Linked DNA regions of Homo sapiens: region 2 is linked to region 1. The links are contacts of gene promoters, found by promoter capture Hi-C in human tissues and cell types (Jung and others, 2019). All regions are on one chromosome and are shown on one strand. Each heading gives the region's core, a stretch centred on a gene start or on the middle of the fragment in contact. The rest is flanking DNA. Distances are from core to core; before and after follow the strand shown. Region 1 holds the start of F13A1 (coagulation factor XIII A chain). Region 2 overlaps FARS2 (phenylalanyl-tRNA synthetase 2, mitochondrial).

What was found. Contacts are between HindIII fragments. The study calls those that stand out against the background at their distance.
Region 2: a fragment that was not itself captured here is called in contact with the fragment with the promoter of F13A1 in region 1 in 1 of the 25 tissues and cell types used here (dorsolateral prefrontal cortex).

The regions. Positions count from the first base shown.
Region 1 is chr6:6,318,013-6,323,100 of GRCh38, forward strand. F13A1 (coagulation factor XIII A chain) reads right to left here and starts at 2,650. Exons shown (of 15, transcript NM_000129.4): 1 at 2,575-2,650; 2 at 523-670. The coding sequence starts at 652. All of the region lies in intron 1 of LOC124901253 (a long non-coding RNA gene), which reads left to right. The HindIII fragment of the contact is 8,313 bases long and covers 1-5,088 here.
Region 2 is chr6:5,447,375-5,452,868 of GRCh38, forward strand. All of the region lies in intron 4 of FARS2 (phenylalanyl-tRNA synthetase 2, mitochondrial), which reads left to right. FARS2-AS1 (FARS2 antisense RNA 1) reads right to left here. Exons shown (of 2, transcript NR_125848.1): 2 at 5,094-5,383. Among named protein-coding and RNA genes, the nearest start is that of FARS2-AS1, 8.0 kb to the right of the region's middle. The HindIII fragment of the contact is 5,037 bases long and covers 407-5,443 here.

The DNA of each region.
Region 1 (5,088 bases), core at 1,400-3,899:
CAGGCTGCTCTGGAGAGAAATAGAGGGCTTCTATCTCTATTACTGTCAGAGTCTGGCACTTCTCCCCGGCTCTGAAATTCACAGCAATGGATGGAGGAGGGAGGAGGGAGAAGGAAGGAGGTGCAAGCCAGACAATCAAAACAGCCACAATATTTTGGAAGTGGAATATTCCAGCTAGAGAAAATTCTCTAAAGCATTGAGCAGTAGGGCTGGAAGAGGCCCTAGCTAATCCAGCACTCTGGTTTTGTAGAGGAAATAGTTGAGAGGCAGAAAGACAAAGCAACTTCTCTGAGGTTACAAGGTCAGTAAGGGGCAGAACTGGGACAAGGCTCTGGGTCTTCGGTGCTTTCACCACTTAAAAGAAAGCTTTTGCTTTCTTCCTTTATAAAACCAGAGATTGGCAGGGGGCTTCCTTTTGTGGGAACCCCAGTGGAGACAGAGGATGTTTACCTGCAGGGAAGAGGGGCCAGGGCCCGGCTGTGCCTGGACCCAGAGTGGTGGGGAAGGGGGGTATGCTCATACCTTGCAGGTTGACGCCCCGGGGCACCACGCCCTGAAGCTCCACTGTGGGCAGGTCATCTTCCGCTGCATTAGAGTTATTGGGTGGAACTGCTCTTCTGCCTCCAAAGGCGGTCCTGGAAGTTTCTGACATTTTTGACTTTACAAGGTCCTTCAGAAAAAAAAAAAAAAGAAGACAACAGAAAAGGCATGTAAAGTGAGTAACATTTGAGACAAGGATTCCAAAATAGAGAAACAGATATATCTGTGTGTGATAGCACTTGAGCAACACATTTTGCCGTTTGCATAAATAAAAACTGAGAAGTGGCAGCAAGGATTAGTCTAATGATGGAATACAGTTCCCCAAGGATCTTGGGGAGATTTTTGTATGTGTCAAAACATATGGAAAGCAGAAGAAAAGGGGCTTATTCAAAGAAATTTAAAAATTAAAAGATTTTTGGAGACCCAGATTCCCCCACCCTCCATAATCCTACAGCAGCATCTTCGCAAGAAATGTTTCCTGTTATATGCATGTGCTGTATCTATGTTCATTTCATACAGATTTATGAGATTATAAGTCACTTTTAAGAATAAACGCACACAACCATGTCCAGACAAATGTTGTCTTCTAAAGCGTTTACATTTGCAATTTAATTCAACCAATATTTATTGAGGGCCTATGACATGCCAGGCTGTGATCTAGGTACATGGGATACATCAGAGAACAAAACAGAATGTTTGCTCTGATAGATTATAGTCTGATAGGGTTAGGGTGGAGCCCAAGAAGAGCCATAAGTAAATCCACTTAGGGGTGAGGAGGTAGGAACTGCTTTGGAAATTGAGCCACATGGAGGAGGATAAGGAGGTGGAGAGGTTGGGCATGCAATTTTCAATAGGGCTATCAATAGGCTTAAGAAGTCAGGGTTGCCAACATTTCCCATTCCCCAAGCCTGCTTCCCCTTCCCTTGGAGCTTGTGCAGGCACTGAGCCAGTTTAAACAACACACACCTGACGGTCAGTGCCCAGTAAGTACTTGTTGACCAAATGACCAAATGAAGGGGGACTTTGTTTCTGGGCCCAGTGAAGGTTCCCCCTTGATCCCCTGGATTACCCAGTCATGACTCCTGGAGACTTGGCTATTTTCAAAAACCAGGCACACCCCCAAGAGGTGAAGAGTCCCCATTATAGAGGCCACCAGAGTAGAGAGATGGTTCCAGAGACATGTGGAGCACTAACAACATGCTGGAGAAAAGACAACCACGCCTAAGGTGTCTGGTCTGAGAAGGAGACAGGAGTGTTTGGATGCATAAGGTGTGAATGGGTATCCATAAGTATAGATAAATATATTTACAGTCATTGGTGAGCTGACGGGGGAAGGGAGGGAGAAGAGCGAAAAAGGGTTAATGATAGGGAGAAGGCTGCGAGAGCCATCCTCTAGTGAGAAATACCGAAGGTAGGCTGCGGCATTGCCAGGGGTGCAGAACAGTGTGGCGCGCTGTCGGGAGACACAGTGCTAAGGGGGAGAAGGGGGGAGCCCCAGGTGCACGCCTGGCTGGGTGAGTGCGGCGGGCAGGAGCCCTCGCTTCTGGGCGGGTCTAAGGAGGAGAAGTGGCTCGAGTTCAGCTCCAAATTGGGACGGAGGCAGGCGATGCGCAGGAGTGGGGAGGCGCGCAGGAGTGGGGAGCCAAGCCGGCGGGGTTCCAGTCTAGCAGGCTGTTCTCACTTGGCCCCACTCCCTCCACCTTTTGTGTTCCAGCTCCATAATCTGCTCCCTGAGGAAAGGGGGCTCGTCCCTTGGGGAAGCACCTCCAACTCCCCCATCCCCATTTGGTGGCATTCTAAGCAAGCAACGGCTTCGGGAGAGCTGCCTCGAGAGCCTGAGAGAAGTCCCGCTTAGAAGCTGGGCTGGGCAGGTGCGGAGTTGGGGGCGGGAAGCCAGGATTGGGCAAGTGGAGCTGCCTGTGACCGGCGCCACAGGGCCCAGAGCAAGCCGCTTGCTGGTTCAACCAGGAAACCGAGGTGCAGAAGGTGGACGCAGCGGGCCCTGGCTCATAGGGTGCAGGGTCGGTGGCTTACCTGCAGGCGCTCCCCTCCAGAGGTGCCCTCGCGTGGGCTTGCTCTGTGCGCCTCGGGGACTTCCTCAAACGGACTCGGGAAAGACAAGACAGTTGGCTCTTAAATAACTTCCTAAGAGGAGCCCTCACCCTCCTCCCCTGTCCCACAGGGTTTTCTCCTCCCCCTTCTCCACAGCTGGAGCCAGTAGGGGAGCTCAGAGGATTTTCTATTTACTTCATCTGGCCTGTTATCCCGGCAGGTGCGCCCTTCTCTCCCACTTGCCCCTCTGACTCCCAATTTCCCATTCCCACTTCTCCTCCCCATCCCCATCCCTAGATCTGCCCTCCCCACCGCAACCAGTTGCTGGGAGTACCAGGCAAGGGGCCCTGCAGTGCCAGGAAGTCCCCACCCGTCCCCTTTGGTCAGAGGGTCTGGGAGGGTTTCCTTTACAAAGGAATGCTTTTGCCTGGCAGGTCAGCTGCTACTGTGGCTTGGCAGGAGGGGGGTCTGCCCTCCCACAGACAGGTCACACAGACAGTTGTGACCATGCATGCAGTGAGAGCAACGTGTCCCTCCTGTGCAAATAAGGCATGGTCTGCATTCCTGAATCATCCCAGAGCCACAGCCACCGCCTAACCACAAGACTTCCTGCAGGAATGGGATGCCTAGCCCCAAGGAAGATGAGTAAACATCTTTAATAATGCCATGCAGATTAGAAAATAACACTTGGTTTTCTCTGAAAATCATTTTAGTGCATGTTCAAAAATTAGAAAATTTTCCCCCTAAAATTTTAATTTTTTTCTTTTACTCTTTCTTTCTTTCTTTCTTTCATCTTTCTATCTTTCAGATGAAGTCTTGCTCTGTTGCAAAGGCTGGAGTGCAACCTCCACCTCCCGGGTTCAAGTGATTCTTCTGCCTCAGCCTCCCAAGTAGCTGGAACTACAGGTGCATGCCACCATGCCCGCCTAATTTTTGTATTTTTAGTAGAGATGGGGCTTTACCATGTTGGCCAGGCTGGTCTCGAACTTCTGACCTCAGGTGATCCACCCTCCTTGGCTTCCCAAAGTGTTGGGATTACAGGCGTGAGCCACCGCACCCAGTCAAACATGGCTATTTCTAACCTTCTTTACTGTCTTCAAATTTCTGACCCTGCCACTCAATCTCCCAATGTTATAAAGAAGAAAAAAAAAGATGCCATTGGTTAGAAATTCTCTCAATTTTCTGCTACCAATCTATGAACCTGCCTGCAACCTTATCTATCTTTTCCTCTTTCTTCTTGTTACTGAAGTTGGAAAGGTCCCTCCTCCCTCTGCATCTCCAAACCAGGCTTCTGCGTTGCCTTGTTCTCCGGGGCTTTGCTGTGACTCTTACGTACTCTTCCTCTTGCAGCTTCAAGCTCCTGCTTGCTAATAGTGGGTCTTCTCAGCATTCATGCAATTTCAGGTCTCTTCAGTATTTTTTTAAAAACCTCCCCCAACCTATGTCCCCACTCCTGCTGTTACTCCTCCTCTCCTCCCCTTCATCACTAAGTATCTGCCATCTGGCTTCCGCCTCATCATTCTACTGAAAGTGGAGGTCACGGTCTCCAAGGCCTGTGCTCAGGCCAAAAGACAGGATTCAGTTCTTATTTACCTGACCTTTTGGAAGCATTGAACTCTGTCTTTGAAGGTATTTTTCCTAGGCCTCCTTGACATTGAACACTCTGTGGTTTCCTCCAGTGCAGCGCAATATTCCTTGATTGTCTGAGGAACTCCCATAGTTTTCAAATTCCATCTATATCCTGACACCTCCCAAATCTGGGTCTTTAGCCAAGATCTTTTCCAGAATTGCAGATTCCCGTATCTAAGTGCCTACTGGCTATCCTCATTTGTCACATCCCAGTGACAACACACGCTCATCATGTCTAACATGAGATGTATCACTTTCCTGGAAAACCTGGTGCATCTCAGGAGTTCCCTACCTCAATGAATACCATCACTTTGCACGCAGGTGGTACACCAGACACATGGGCATCATTCTTGAGGCTTCCTTGTTTCTCTCCCTCAATCATCAAATCCGATCCTTGAGCAAATATTTTCTATCCTACCTCTTAAACAGCCCTTGAATCTACCCGTGTATGTACCCCTTTCCAGTCCATTCTCTACAGTGCAGTCAGAATGAGCATTTCAGGGCTAAAATCCGAAATCAAATTATTTGCACAAAGCCCTTATATGGCTACTTCTCTTTGCTTTTTGGATAAATTGCAAGCTGAAACTGACAAGGCCTATACAAGCTGGACCCTGCCTCTAGCACTGCTCTTTCCCTCAGCATCCATACAATTTGAGGTCTCCAGTATTTTTAAAAAACCTTCCCCCAACACCAATCTACCCTCCCTGCCTTCCACTGTTGTTTCTCCTCTCCTCCTCTTCATCACTAAGCTTCTGCCATTTGGCTTCCATCTTTCTTCCCTATCATCTTCCTCTGCCATCTTTCTTCCCTGCCCAGTCTCCCTCCACTGACTCCCCAGTTGTCTTGCAAGGAGTTTGCCTTGTTGTA
Region 2 (5,494 bases), core at 1,675-4,174, 870 kb before region 1:
ATAATTGACACACAGAACCTTTGAGCAATACTCTGCCACTGATACCCTCCAAAGAATTGTAGGTGAATTCCACAGCATGCTTTTTACCCCCATTCTCTACCTTAAGCTGCCTAAATCATAATCACTAGTATAACCTCTTCCTCATGGTGGAGACATTTTTAAAGAACATTATCCAGGGAAGTGGAAACTGTTAGGTGAAGGCTTTTGTTACCTAAGAAGGCAAAATGTACAAATGCTACTCATCATCCCTACCTTATCCTCAATAAATGTTTATTGTGTTTTTGACCCACATTTGGTTGAAAACAGTCCATGTAGAAGTGAACCTGTGTAGTTTATTGAGGATAAAACAATAAATGTTTACTGAGGATAAGGTAGGGAGGCTGAGTAGCATTTGTAAGAAAGGTAGATGCTTGGCAAGTGAAGATGAACAAGGCACAACTGCCCTTAAGGATTGAATGGTTTGATGAGGGATGCAGTCTCACAAATAGCCCCATAAGCAGATATGGTATCAGGCTTGGAGGCAAGTGGCCTGCAGAATCAGGGAGGTTATCCCAGAAGAATTACCTTGAAGAGTGTTCTTTTACCTTCGTCTTGAAGAATGCATAGGCCTTTGCCAGCACAATAGGAAGGCAGGGCCTTCTAGGCAGATGGGATAGCACATTCAAAGATACAGAGTTTCGAAAGATCCAGAATGTTTATTTGAGGACAAAGAATCGCAGTGTGGTTGGGGTAGCCTAGGGGACAGTGAGAGTGCTGGTGGGAGGTAGATCCAGAGAATCCTGGCATGTGAGGCTTTATACACAAAGCTAAAGGAGTGTGGACTCTGTGCTGTTGTTATTGCAGCCAGTAGAGACGTATTTGGGAAGGGAAGGCGATGAGAAAGTGGAAGAAGGGAGTCCGCCTCTTCATGTATTGTATACAATTATTTTATAGGTCATGCATTTATTTGGGGTGTGAGTGTGCCTGTGAGTGTGTACACTCTCCCTCCCACTGCTTTCATGTCTGTTTTTCTGTATCCTTTAAGTTTTTTAATGCAAATACAAATATGTATTCTTTTTCTTTCTTCTTAAAAACCAAAGCAGCACACATTTTTTCTGTTTTTTTTTTTTCACTTACAGTGTATTTTAGAGATGTTTGCACGTTAGAAAGCATTCCCATTTCTATTCACAGCTGCATGGTATTGCATTGTGTGTATGAACCATAATGTATTTAATCAGTGCTCCCTTGATGGGCATTTTGTGTGTTTCCCTCTTTTGCTATTAAAAACAATGTTTCAGTGAATAACTATGTACATGTGTCACATTTTGCGTGCAAGTACATTTATAGGATTTATTTCTTGAAGTGGAATTGCTAAATCACACAGTATATGCATTTATAATTCTTATAGACATCATGCCTATTAAGTAGACCTGGGGTGAAGCAGTCATATCTGATATGTGGATTGAATGAGGGTAAGCAGTGAGCAAAATGGAGGATGGTGCTAAGTTAGCCTTGGTGACTCATGATGCCATTTCACAAGATGGAGACAGAGAAGCTATGTAGGTTGCACCCAAGCTTTTGAACTCTTAAGTCTGAAGTGTCTATAAGACATCTAGGTAGGAACATCTAGGAGATAGTTGCACGTGAAAGATCGGAGAGCGTAAGAGAGCTCTGTAAGAGATTTTGAATTCATCAGTGAAGTTAAAAGTCACTGGCCGGGTGCCGTGGCTCACGCCTGTAATCCTAGCATTTTGGGAGGCCGAGGCGGGCAGATCACTTGAGGTCAGGAGTTCCAGACCAACCTGGCCAACATGGTGAAACCCCATCTTTACTACAAATGCAAAAATTAGCTGGGTGTGTTGGTGGGCACCTGTAATACCAGCTACTCGGGAGGCTGAGGCAGGAGAATCGCTTGAACCTGGGAGGCAGAGGTTGCAGTGAGCCAAGACTTTGCCACTGCACTCCAGCCTGGCTGACAGAGTGAGTAAGACTCCATCTCAAAAAAAAAAAAAAGAAAAAAAAGAAAAAGAAAACTCATAGACTTAAGATTTTTTATATATGTGTATATATGAAAATTATTATAAAGAAAGAAGAGAAAGGCCAAAAAGTATAAGGTTTCAGAAAAATAAATATTCTCCTGGGTTCCTTTATCTATTAAATTTACTAGAATTCATTGGCATAAGGCAAAAGTTCTCATGTGGTTCAGGTCTTTATTTGACTTATTCATTCATTGTTCATGCATTCATTCATTTCAATATTTGCTGAATACCTGGTAGTACAGATTGCATATCTCTTATGTTAAATGCTTGGGACAAGAAATGTTTTAGGTTTTGGATTTTGTGTGTGTGTGTTTTGGAATATTTGCATTATACTTACTGATTTAGCATTCGTAATCCGAAAACTCGAAATCAGAAATGTTCCAATGAGCATTTCCTTTGAGCATCATGTGGGCCCTCAAAAAGTTTTGGATTTTGGAGCATTTAAGATTTCAGGTTTTTCAGATTTGAGATACTCAAGCTGTACCAATTAATGACGAAAATATGGTCATCCCTTGGTATACATGTGGGATTGATTCCAGGACTCCTGAGTATACCAAAATCTGCACATACTCAAGTCCTGCACTTCCCTGAGGAACCTGTGTGTATGAAAAGTTGGCCCTCTGTATACATGGGTTTTGCATCCTGCAAATACTGTATTTTTGACCCACAGTTGGTTAAAAACAATCCGTGTAGAAGTGAACCTGTGTAGTTCCAATCTTTGTTGTTCAAGGGTCAACTGTATGAGGCTACAGATGGCCCCTGCCCTCCTGCAGCTCACAGTCAGGTGGGAAATATGGTGAGGTAAATGTGTAATGTCAGTGTGTGCTGACACCTGCTGTGAGGAGAGCAGTACATTGCACTGTGGGAAGAGTAGGAGGTGGCATCTAGTGTGACTTGGGGAAGCTTTCAGAAAGGCCTCCTACTCTGAGATGTGAGGAATGAGTAAGGGTTGGTGGTAACAGGGAGTGGGGGAGGGGAAGCGTGATGTGGGCTGCAGGGGCAAACTAGTTTGGTAAGGGGCCAAGTGGTAGGCATTTGGGTTTGGGGCGGCCTTGGTCTCCTGCTCCAGCTCCCCCATGCCGTTGTAGTGTGAAGGTCGCGGTGGCCATCGGTGAAGTGTGGCCGGGTTCCAATAACTCCTTATTTACGGATACAGAAAATTTCCCCTGATTTCCATGCATCATGAATAGTATTCTTCTTTTGATGTTTTTCAACCATTTAAAAAGGTAAAATTCATTCCTAGCTTGTAGGCCTTACAAAAACCAGAGGGTTAGGGATCCAGACTTGGCGTGTGGGAGGTAGTGTGCCGCCTGTTAGTCCAGGCACAAGGGACAGCCTGTTCAAAGGTTGAGGCGGGAGAAGCACACAGGGGCTTCTCTGAGAACCTCTTCTTAGGGGTCTCCTTGCCTCCAGGGTTTCCCTCCTCCAGTCTGCCCTGCTTGGAATCCCTGGATACATGCCTTGGGCTGTCTCTTTCATTATTGCCGTGCCTCTCTGGAAAATCTTCCGTGATTCTCCATGAAGGTATTCAGGGTCCTCCCCTCATCTTCTGCTTTGTTTGCCTCAGCCTCCTTTCATGAAGATTTGGGAAAAATCCTGCTCCACTGACAGGAATCTAGTATTTTAGATACGATTGGAGGTGCTGTAAACACTTCAGGGTTTTCTAGGCCACTGCTCATTCCTATGTATGCACACATAGTTTGCTTTCATTCTGAACTTTTTGTATATTTCCTGGAAAAGTTACTTTGGGATTAATTTACATATAAAAGTCCTATATTTTCATCTTATTTTTATCCTGCCACTTCAGGTATAGGGAAATAAATGAAAAAGTCTTCAAATGTTGACTTCTAAGGCTTTATTACCTCAGACAGCTTCATTAGGTTTGTGGAAATCTAGTGTGCTTTGAAGGAATTAATCTAGCCTTACTTGCAATCTGTATGTGTTTACATAGAATGAACAAACATTGCATTACGTTTCATGAAAATTCAATTATTCTTGTCTCCAGGAAACATGTTCTGCTTAGTATTTAATTCTCAAGTATGTCAAGGTGATGGTTCTTGAACTGTCGTAAGAATTGGGGAGCTGGGGCTCACTGCTCATTTCCATAATCAATGGAGAAATAGCCAGTGGAGACTTTTTAATCACTAAGGTCCTCATGTAACCCATGTCTGAGGTTACAGGGGACATTGGGGACATCAGTCTCAGTGGCATAAGGCTAATATAAAATCCTCTCTAGATTTTTGTTAGAATGAAGAGAAGTAACATTAAGGATGATACTCTACATAATTAATACTTTCTTTTGGAGTTTATTATGCATATGTATGGTTTATTCAGCAGGCATTTTTTGAGATTCTATTGTTAACGAGGTACAGCAAGAGATGGAAAGGTAACAATCAGCTGGTATTAGTGTCTGTTGTGATTGGTTGGACCCTATTTAACTGGCAAGGATCAGTTTAAATGCTTTTATTCTTGAAACATTCCTTGCAAAGTCCGACAACTCATTTCCCACTGTATTGTTACTACAGTGAAGTGATTTTTTGGAAACACCTATCACATATCATCACCATGTCTTTTATAGTTACACGATAGTTAACTAAACTTATCCTTTTCTTCCACAAGAGTCTAACCTCCTTGAAGGTAGGACCATGCTTAATTCCTACTGGTTAGTGGCTGCAGTATTATACTGAAGAAACGGTAAGTCCGGTTTCAGCAGGCCGAGATGTGGAGGAGACGGTTTGGGGTCCAGAGTGGCCTAAGGGAATTATTTGAATCAGGCCAAGAGCATGAGTTTACTTCGAGTCTTTGAGGAGTGAGGTGTAGATGGGTGTAGCACAGTACTAGGAGTTGAGAATGGATCAGAAATGTAGCTTGGGGGCTACACCAGGACGCACAGAGGCCATACTTAAGGGTTTGGAATGGGGCACCATTGAAAGTTTCTAAACAGAAATCACGTGGTGAGGTCCACATGGCCTTTTGGGGCCTTCCTGCCCTGGCCTTTGCCTGCCTCCTCGCTTTCTCTCCCACTCTTGCCCGTGGGTACTCCATGCTCCAAGGAACTGTTGAATGTGCCATGCACACTCTGTTCAGCATTTCCCAAAGGGACCCTGGGCAGTCCTCATGCTCATTTTTCAAACCATGCCATGGTTTGCACTGTTCACTAGCTGTTTGAGGGAAGAGGTCGGGTCTGTTTATTTCTTTGCCACCAGGGCTTCACGCACACCTAACCTTTAGTGGGTACTTAGTAGATATTTATTGAATGTTTGGATGGGTGAATGCATTTTGGCACAAAACCTTCACTTCTGGACTGGAAGATAGATTGGATGGAGCAGAGACGGGAGGCAGTGAGACCAAGTGGAGCATCATACCTGGAAGAGAAACATTGAGCCTGTGAATTACAGCTATAGCAGTAGAAATTCAAGGGGGGAAATAGATTCTGGAGACCTGGGCAAGTAGAACTGACGGGACCCAGAGATCAG